2 separate regions of the Homo sapiens genome follow, and region 2 is linked to region 1. Evidence: promoter capture Hi-C in 16 types of primary human blood cells and fetal thymus (Javierre and others, 2016). All regions are on one chromosome and are shown on one strand. The core of a region is centred on a gene start or on the middle of the fragment in contact, and the rest is flanking DNA. Distances in the headings are between cores, read along the strand shown.

Evidence for each region. Contacts are between HindIII fragments. The CHiCAGO score rates a contact against its expected background, and 5 or more counts as called.
Region 2: a fragment that was not itself captured here is called in contact with the fragment with the promoter of PCDHGA12 in region 1 in 1 of 17 cell types (M1 macrophages); the score reaches 5.1 in M1 macrophages.

Annotation. Positions count from the first base shown.
Region 1 is chr5:141,429,257-141,433,116 of GRCh38, forward strand. PCDHGA12 (protocadherin gamma subfamily A, 12) reads left to right here and starts at 1,251. Exons shown (of 4, transcript NM_003735.3): 1 at 1,251-3,860. The coding sequence starts at 1,504. The region is part of intron 1 of PCDHGA1 (protocadherin gamma subfamily A, 1); the gene reads left to right. The region is part of intron 1 of PCDHGA2 (protocadherin gamma subfamily A, 2); the gene reads left to right. All of the region lies in intron 1 of PCDHGA3 (protocadherin gamma subfamily A, 3), which reads left to right. It also overlaps PCDHGB1, PCDHGA4, PCDHGB2, PCDHGA5, PCDHGB3 and PCDHGA6, and 10 more genes. RefSeq lists an enhancer at 1,147-1,286. The HindIII fragment of the contact is 4,636 bases long and covers 267-3,860 here.
Region 2 is chr5:141,531,690-141,535,821 of GRCh38, forward strand. DIAPH1 (diaphanous related formin 1) reads right to left here. Exons shown (of 28, transcript NM_005219.5): 19 at 2,646-2,744. Among named protein-coding and RNA genes, the nearest start is that of DIAPH1-AS1, 25 kb to the right of the region's middle. The HindIII fragment of the contact is 6,140 bases long and covers 1-4,132 here.

The DNA.
Region 1 (3,860 bases), core at 1-2,500:
GGAATAAATTTTTTTCCTGTGATGTTTCTTGGGACATCAATATTTGAGTATATAAGGCTTTTTCTTTAATCCATTAACTATAAATTTTGAAGAAAATGCATGAGAAAATGGAGAAAATGTGTTTTTTTTTTAAAAAAAATTGAGATTAAGGTCTCATTATGTTGCCCAGGCTGGACTCAAACTCTTGGGCTACAGTAATCCTCCCACCTCAATCTCCAGAGTAGCTGAGACTACAGTTGCCTGAAACTGTGCCTGGCAGAGAAAAAAGCTTAAAAAAATAAGAACATGGTAATGATTTGATAATATTCAGTTACATTTACTTTTGATTCTTGTAATTCAAGTAAACTCAATTTTATGTCTGATATTTTCTCACAGCTACCTATATATTTCTTCCCAATTTAAAATATATTATTTTATTTTATGCCTAGCAAATATCTTTACAGTATAAATATTTACGCTCATGAAAGTACGTAGCCAGTTATTTCTTAGGGAGAATTTTTTCCCTATATTTTGATGGGCTTCCAAAAGTATTACCAGTAATTCTCAGTAATTACAATTAGGTCAGTTACCCAGGAAAAGGTAAGTCTGTAACATTCTTTGGACTACCAATTTTCTTTTACTAAGTTTCCTGAACAATAAATATTTTTGAAATATAATGTATTAATAGAATTCTGGAGTACTTCCATTATTTCCAGTCAATGCAAGTTGGAATGCTTCTACTTTATGCTAAAAATATTAATGTTTCTTTTTCACTTGGGTTCTTGTTAAGTGTGATTCTGATAATGTATACAATCACATATCATTTTTAGGTTTCCATAATATCATGAAAATTTGATTTTTAAGCGTTACATGTCAACAACCTGGTAAAGTAATCCTTCCATTCAGGATCATTCAAGGAATCTATTTAAAAATATTTTCCCCAAATTATAGCTGAATCAGAAAGTTTAAATTATTATATTATATGATTTGTCAAAAAGAGAAACTCCTAGGGAGACATCTCCATAATAGGTGTGTTGGGGGAACAGTAATCTCAAAGCAGATGCACTAACATTATAAGATTAAAATCATTGTTTATAGAAACTTCCAATTCATTTAAAAGCTCATTGGGGAAAAAAAAGCTCATTGGGAAAAAAAAAAAAAGCTCACTAAAGTTTCTATTAAAGCGAATACGGTAGATTTCCATCCCCTTTTGAAGAACAGTAGGTGGAGCTATTTAAGATATAAAAACGAAATATCCTTTCTGGGAGTTCAAGATTGTGCAGTAATTGGTTAGGACTCTGAGCGCCGCTGTTCACCAATCGGGGAGAGAAAAGCGGAGATCCTGCTCGCCTTGCACGCGCCTGAAGCACAAAGCAGATAGCTAGGAATGAACCATCCCTGGGAGTATGTGGAAACAACGGAGGAGCTCTGACTTCCCAACTGTCCCATTCTATGGGCGAAGGAACTGCTCCTGACTTCAGTGGTTAAGGGCAGAATTGAAAATAATTCTGGAGGAAGATAAGAATGATTCCTGCGCGACTGCACCGGGACTACAAAGGGCTTGTCCTGCTGGGAATCCTCCTGGGGACTCTGTGGGAGACCGGATGCACCCAGATACGCTATTCAGTTCCGGAAGAGCTGGAGAAAGGCTCTAGGGTGGGCGACATCTCCAGGGACCTGGGGCTGGAGCCCCGGGAGCTCGCGGAGCGCGGAGTCCGCATCATCCCCAGAGGTAGGACGCAGCTTTTCGCCCTGAATCCGCGCAGCGGCAGCTTGGTCACGGCGGGCAGGATAGACCGGGAGGAGCTCTGTATGGGGGCCATCAAGTGTCAATTAAATCTAGACATTCTGATGGAGGATAAAGTGAAAATATATGGAGTAGAAGTAGAAGTAAGGGACATTAACGACAATGCGCCTTACTTTCGTGAAAGTGAATTAGAAATAAAAATTAGTGAAAATGCAGCCACTGAGATGCGGTTCCCTCTACCCCACGCCTGGGATCCGGATATCGGGAAGAACTCTCTGCAGAGCTACGAGCTCAGCCCGAACACTCACTTCTCCCTCATCGTGCAAAATGGAGCCGACGGTAGTAAGTACCCCGAATTGGTGCTGAAACGCGCCCTGGACCGCGAAGAAAAGGCTGCTCACCACCTGGTCCTTACGGCCTCCGACGGGGGCGACCCGGTGCGCACAGGCACCGCGCGCATCCGCGTGATGGTTCTGGATGCGAACGACAACGCACCAGCGTTTGCTCAGCCCGAGTACCGCGCGAGCGTTCCGGAGAATCTGGCCTTGGGCACGCAGCTGCTTGTAGTCAACGCTACCGACCCTGACGAAGGAGTCAATGCGGAAGTGAGGTATTCCTTCCGGTATGTGGACGACAAGGCGGCCCAAGTTTTCAAACTAGATTGTAATTCAGGGACAATATCAACAATAGGGGAGTTGGACCACGAGGAGTCAGGATTCTACCAGATGGAAGTGCAAGCAATGGATAATGCAGGATATTCTGCGCGAGCCAAAGTCCTGATCACTGTTCTGGACGTGAACGACAATGCCCCAGAAGTGGTCCTCACCTCTCTCGCCAGCTCGGTTCCCGAAAACTCTCCCAGAGGGACATTAATTGCCCTTTTAAATGTAAATGACCAAGATTCTGAGGAAAACGGACAGGTGATCTGTTTCATCCAAGGAAATCTGCCCTTTAAATTAGAAAAATCTTACGGAAATTACTATAGTTTAGTCACAGACATAGTCTTGGATAGGGAACAGGTTCCTAGCTACAACATCACAGTGACCGCCACTGACCGGGGAACCCCGCCCCTATCCACGGAAACTCATATCTCGCTGAACGTGGCAGACACCAACGACAACCCGCCGGTCTTCCCTCAGGCCTCCTATTCCGCTTATATCCCAGAGAACAATCCCAGAGGAGTTTCCCTCGTCTCTGTGACCGCCCACGACCCCGACTGTGAAGAGAACGCCCAGATCACTTATTCCCTGGCTGAGAACACCATCCAAGGGGCAAGCCTATCGTCCTACGTGTCCATCAACTCCGACACTGGGGTACTGTATGCGCTGAGCTCCTTCGACTACGAGCAGTTCCGAGACTTGCAAGTGAAAGTGATGGCGCGGGACAACGGGCACCCGCCCCTCAGCAGCAACGTGTCGTTGAGCCTGTTCGTGCTGGACCAGAACGACAATGCGCCCGAGATCCTGTACCCCGCCCTCCCCACGGACGGTTCCACTGGCGTGGAGCTGGCTCCCCGCTCCGCAGAGCCCGGCTACCTGGTGACCAAGGTGGTGGCGGTGGACAGAGACTCCGGCCAGAACGCCTGGCTGTCCTACCGTCTGCTCAAGGCCAGCGAGCCGGGACTCTTCTCGGTGGGTCTGCACACGGGCGAGGTGCGCACGGCGCGAGCCCTGCTGGACAGAGACGCGCTCAAGCAGAGCCTCGTAGTGGCCGTCCAGGACCACGGCCAGCCCCCTCTCTCCGCCACTGTCACGCTCACCGTGGCCGTGGCCGACAGCATCCCCCAAGTCCTGGCGGACCTCGGCAGCCTCGAGTCTCCAGCTAACTCTGAAACCTCAGACCTCACTCTGTACCTGGTGGTAGCGGTGGCCGCGGTCTCCTGCGTCTTCCTGGCCTTCGTCATCTTGCTGCTGGCGCTCAGGCTGCGGCGCTGGCACAAGTCACGCCTGCTGCAGGCTTCAGGAGGCGGCTTGACAGGAGCGCCGGCGTCGCACTTTGTGGGCGTGGACGGGGTGCAGGCTTTCCTGCAGACCTATTCCCACGAGGTTTCCCTCACCACGGACTCGCGGAAGAGTCACCTGATCTTCCCCCAGCCCAACTATGCAGACATGCTCGTCAGCCAGGAGAGCTTTGA
Region 2 (4,132 bases), core at 965-3,464, 100 kb after region 1:
GTTGACCAGGCTCGTCTCGAACTCCTGACCTCCAGTGATCCACCTGCCTCAGCCTCCCAAAGTGCTGGGATTACAGCCATGAGCCACTGCACCTAGCCTAATTCTACCATCTTAATATCCTCTCCCTCTCTTATTCTCATCACCTTAGTTTCAGGCCCTGATCACATCTCACCTAGTTTAAAACAATGACATAACTCATCTCTGCCTATAGTCTCCCCTTACCTTAGCAATCCAGCCTCAAAATCACTGCCAAAGCAGCCTTCCTAAAAATTACACAGGATAAAAAGCAATCCAGCCTCAAAATCACTGCCAAAGCAGCCTTCCTAAAAATTACACAGGATAATCTCACTCATTTTCCTGATTTAAACTTTACTCAGTTGTACTCAACTACTTGCAGTTCCTGAACTGCACAATGTTATCTCATGCTCTCATACATGCTGATCCCTCTCCTGAAACAAGCCAACCTTCCCGCCTTCACTTAATTTTTTGGTTTTTTTTTTTGAGACGGGTCTTACTCTGTTGCCCAGGCTGCAGTGCAGTGGTGCAATCACAGCTCACTGCAACCTCAAATTCCTGGGCTCAAGTGATCCTTCTGCCTTAGCCTCCTGAGTAGTTGACTACTGGCACACGCCACTGTGCTCAGCTAGTATTTTATGTTTTGTAGAGACAGGGGTCTTGCTTTGTTTCCCAGGCTGGTCTTGAACTCTTGGTCTCAAGCAATCTTCCCACCTCAGCTTCCTGCTGGGATTACAGGAATGTGCCACCATGCCCAGCCTCCTTAATTCCTTAATTGGTCTTTCAACTCAGTTTAAGTAGTACCTCCTTTAGAATATCTTCTGGGATTTGCCCCTCCAACACTGCCCCCACTTGATTTAGATCCCTCCCTTCCTAGTACTCTCATAAACATTCTAGCATACCTCCATCATAGCATTTATTAATCTGCACTGTTATCATCTGCCTTTCTGTCTTTACCAAATACGTGGCTCATGCAGACAGGGACTATTGTCTTATTCAGCTTTGTATCATTAGCACATGAGAGACATTTAATCACTAAATTCCATCTTCCAGACCATCCTATCCTATACTACTCTCAATTTTCTTTTCTTAAATTCTGTTTTCCATATCAATATCATAACACTAGAAATCATAATGTACTACACCATTGTCTTTCTTGTATCATTTTTTAAACCAATTACTCATGTCTTATGTTCCTAGAGATACTCTTGGGAAGAGGAACTGACTCACAATACTTTAATCTCCATAAGACTTCACCACAGACACTATGTAGTAATAGTTATTGACAATAATTTAAGATTATATAATCAAGAATAATGTGACAGTTTACTGGTCTCATTGTATCACTGACTTTACTTATGGGTATGTGTACTTATTGGCTGTGTGATCTGGGCACTTCGCATCATTTAAACTTTGGTTTTCTCATTTGGATAAACAGGGACAATAACTGCATCACAAGACTATGAGTGGGTTTTACGGAAAATACCCTTTCATCTCTGGAACACATGCCTAATAGAGCCTATAACATAGCAGACCCTGAAATATTTGTCAAATAAATATTTAAGTCTATATTTCTTGGTATGAAGTAGGTAGATGAGTAATTAAAAAGAACAAAAATTTAACATTTGTCCTGATCATCAAATAAGTACTACCTATATCAACTTTGCAGAGGAATTTCTCATTTGAAATTTTGCTACCAAAGAGTTACGAGTATACGTGGAAACTTCAGAACAGAACCCTTCTCTGGAGTTACTGATCCTACTCTGAGAAGTACAAAATTTACCTTAGTTATTTTAAATCACAAAGTAATTTTAAATTTAATTGAAGCCAAGCTAGTACCTTTACTTATCAGAAAGTGAAAGCTGGGCATGGTAGCTTACATCTGTAATCCCAACATATTGTGAGGCTGAGGTGGGCAGATCACTTGAGGCCAGGAGCTTAAGACCAGCCTGGGCAACATAGCGAGACCCCTTCTCTATTTATTTAATAAAAAAGCAAAAGTGGGAGCAAGGAAATGTCCAGTGGCTAGACCATCTGTGGTAGACTTTCTGTGAACGCAATGGACATAGTAAGAACTTTTAAATAAGAAAGTCAGAGACACAGCTGGGCAGATCACCTGAGCCCAGGAGTTTGAGACCAGCCTGAGCAACATGGCAAAACCCCATCTCTACAAAAAATTAGCTGAGCATGGTGGTGCACACCTGTAGTCTCAGCTACTTGGGAGGCTGGGGTGGAAGAATCAACTGAGCCCAGGAAGCTGAGGTGGCAGTGAGCTGTGATCGCATTATTACACCCCAGCATGGGCAACAGAGTGGTGAGACTGTGTCTCAAAAAAAAAAAAAAAAAAAAAAAAGGCTCAAATCCCAGACCTCCTTCTTACTAGCTTTATGTCTAAGCAAATTCCTAAAAGTCTTAGCTTGTTTCCTTGACATAAAACTGGATACTTAAAAATCTTGCAGTGCTATTGAAGAAATTAAACATGATACTGAAAATTCACTGTGCAATGGTTGGTATATAGCAGGAATTGAACAATTAAAGTTCCATATCAAGGGACCATAGATTCAAGAGAATTAAAAATTCTTAAAAGAATTCCTTCACATTTTGAATAGTTGGGACCAAGAGATACTCACAGAGATTCTGGGCTGTCTTTGAATCCAACACCTTTAACTCTTTTACTTTTTTCTTTTGCACAGATTTCTTTTCTTCTCCACCTTCTTGATCCTTCTTGGCTAGCAGGGAAAAGATTAGAAAAGCATGATTAAAAGTAAGCCACCTCTGTGCTTTACCAAGCAACTACTGTCCAGCGTGAAATGGCCCCTCACTTCCTCTCTATTATAATGGTCTATTGTATTCCTTCAAAACTAACCTCCTCTTCAACCAACCACCCTTTTATTACTGAACCTCCCCCAACTCTAATAAATATCTCATTTTCATTTCTTCAATATTTATCAGTAATGCTTTCCTACCTACATCCTATCTACTTGCAGGGATCAGCAAGCTGCCTGTAAAGGACCAGATAGTAACTATTTTAGGCTTTGCAGGCCATATGGTCTCAATTATTCAACTCTGCCACTGTAGCATGAAAGCAGGCACAGACAATACATAAATGAATGGGCATGGTTGTGTTCCATTAAAACTTGATTCACAAGAACAGTTGGTTAGTAGTAGTTCAGCAGTCCCCTTCCACCATGTTATCCTTCCTTTTGTGCCTATTTAAAAATCCAACTTATCTTTCAAGCTCCATCTTTTTTGTTTGTTTTTTGAGACAGCATCTCACTGTGTCACCCAGGTTGGACTGCAGTGGCGCAATCATGGCTCACTTGCAGCCTTGACCTCTTGGGCTCAGATAATTCTCCCACTTCAGGGTCCCAAGGAGCTGGGACTACAGGTGCAGGCCACCACGCCCGGCTAATTTTTTTATTTTTTGTGGAGATGAGGTTTCACCATATTGCCCAGGCTGGCCTCAAACTCCTGGGATCAAGCAATCTGCCTGCCTCAGCCTCCCAAACTGCTAGGAGTACAGGCATGAGCCACTGTTGCCCTACCTTAAGCTCCATCTTGAACATGACTTTCTCTAAAAAAATTTTGTTTTCTCAACTGCCTATGATTGAGGTAAAATATACTTCTGCCTTCTGCATTCTTTTCAGACTATCCAAAGCCATCATATTCTTCCCTTCTCATGAAACGTTCCCTGATAAATGATACTCACTCTCTGCTTTGATAAACTTATTTTCATGGTATTTGTTATCTATATCTCATCCAACAATTAATTATTCAATGTTTTGTGACATTGCATACGTATTATCTTGATCTTTTTAAAGCCTCTGTTATTTAATAAGTGTGGATATTTCTCATCCCACCTAGATTTTGAACTTCAAGGGCATGGGCAAAACAGTATTTCATTGTATCACTCCCTTAATGGCTCTCATGATAGTAACATTCTCTAAAAAATGGTTGATGCTGGCTATCCAAGGAGGGTTGAGCAATACATAGGAAAAAACCAAGTAACTATTCTGGACAGATATAATTGTAAAATACTTTGTACTATAGTGTAACTTGGTATCAAATTTTCAGAAAGTCATATGGGAATATCCCCGAAAGGAGAGTCGAGAAGCTG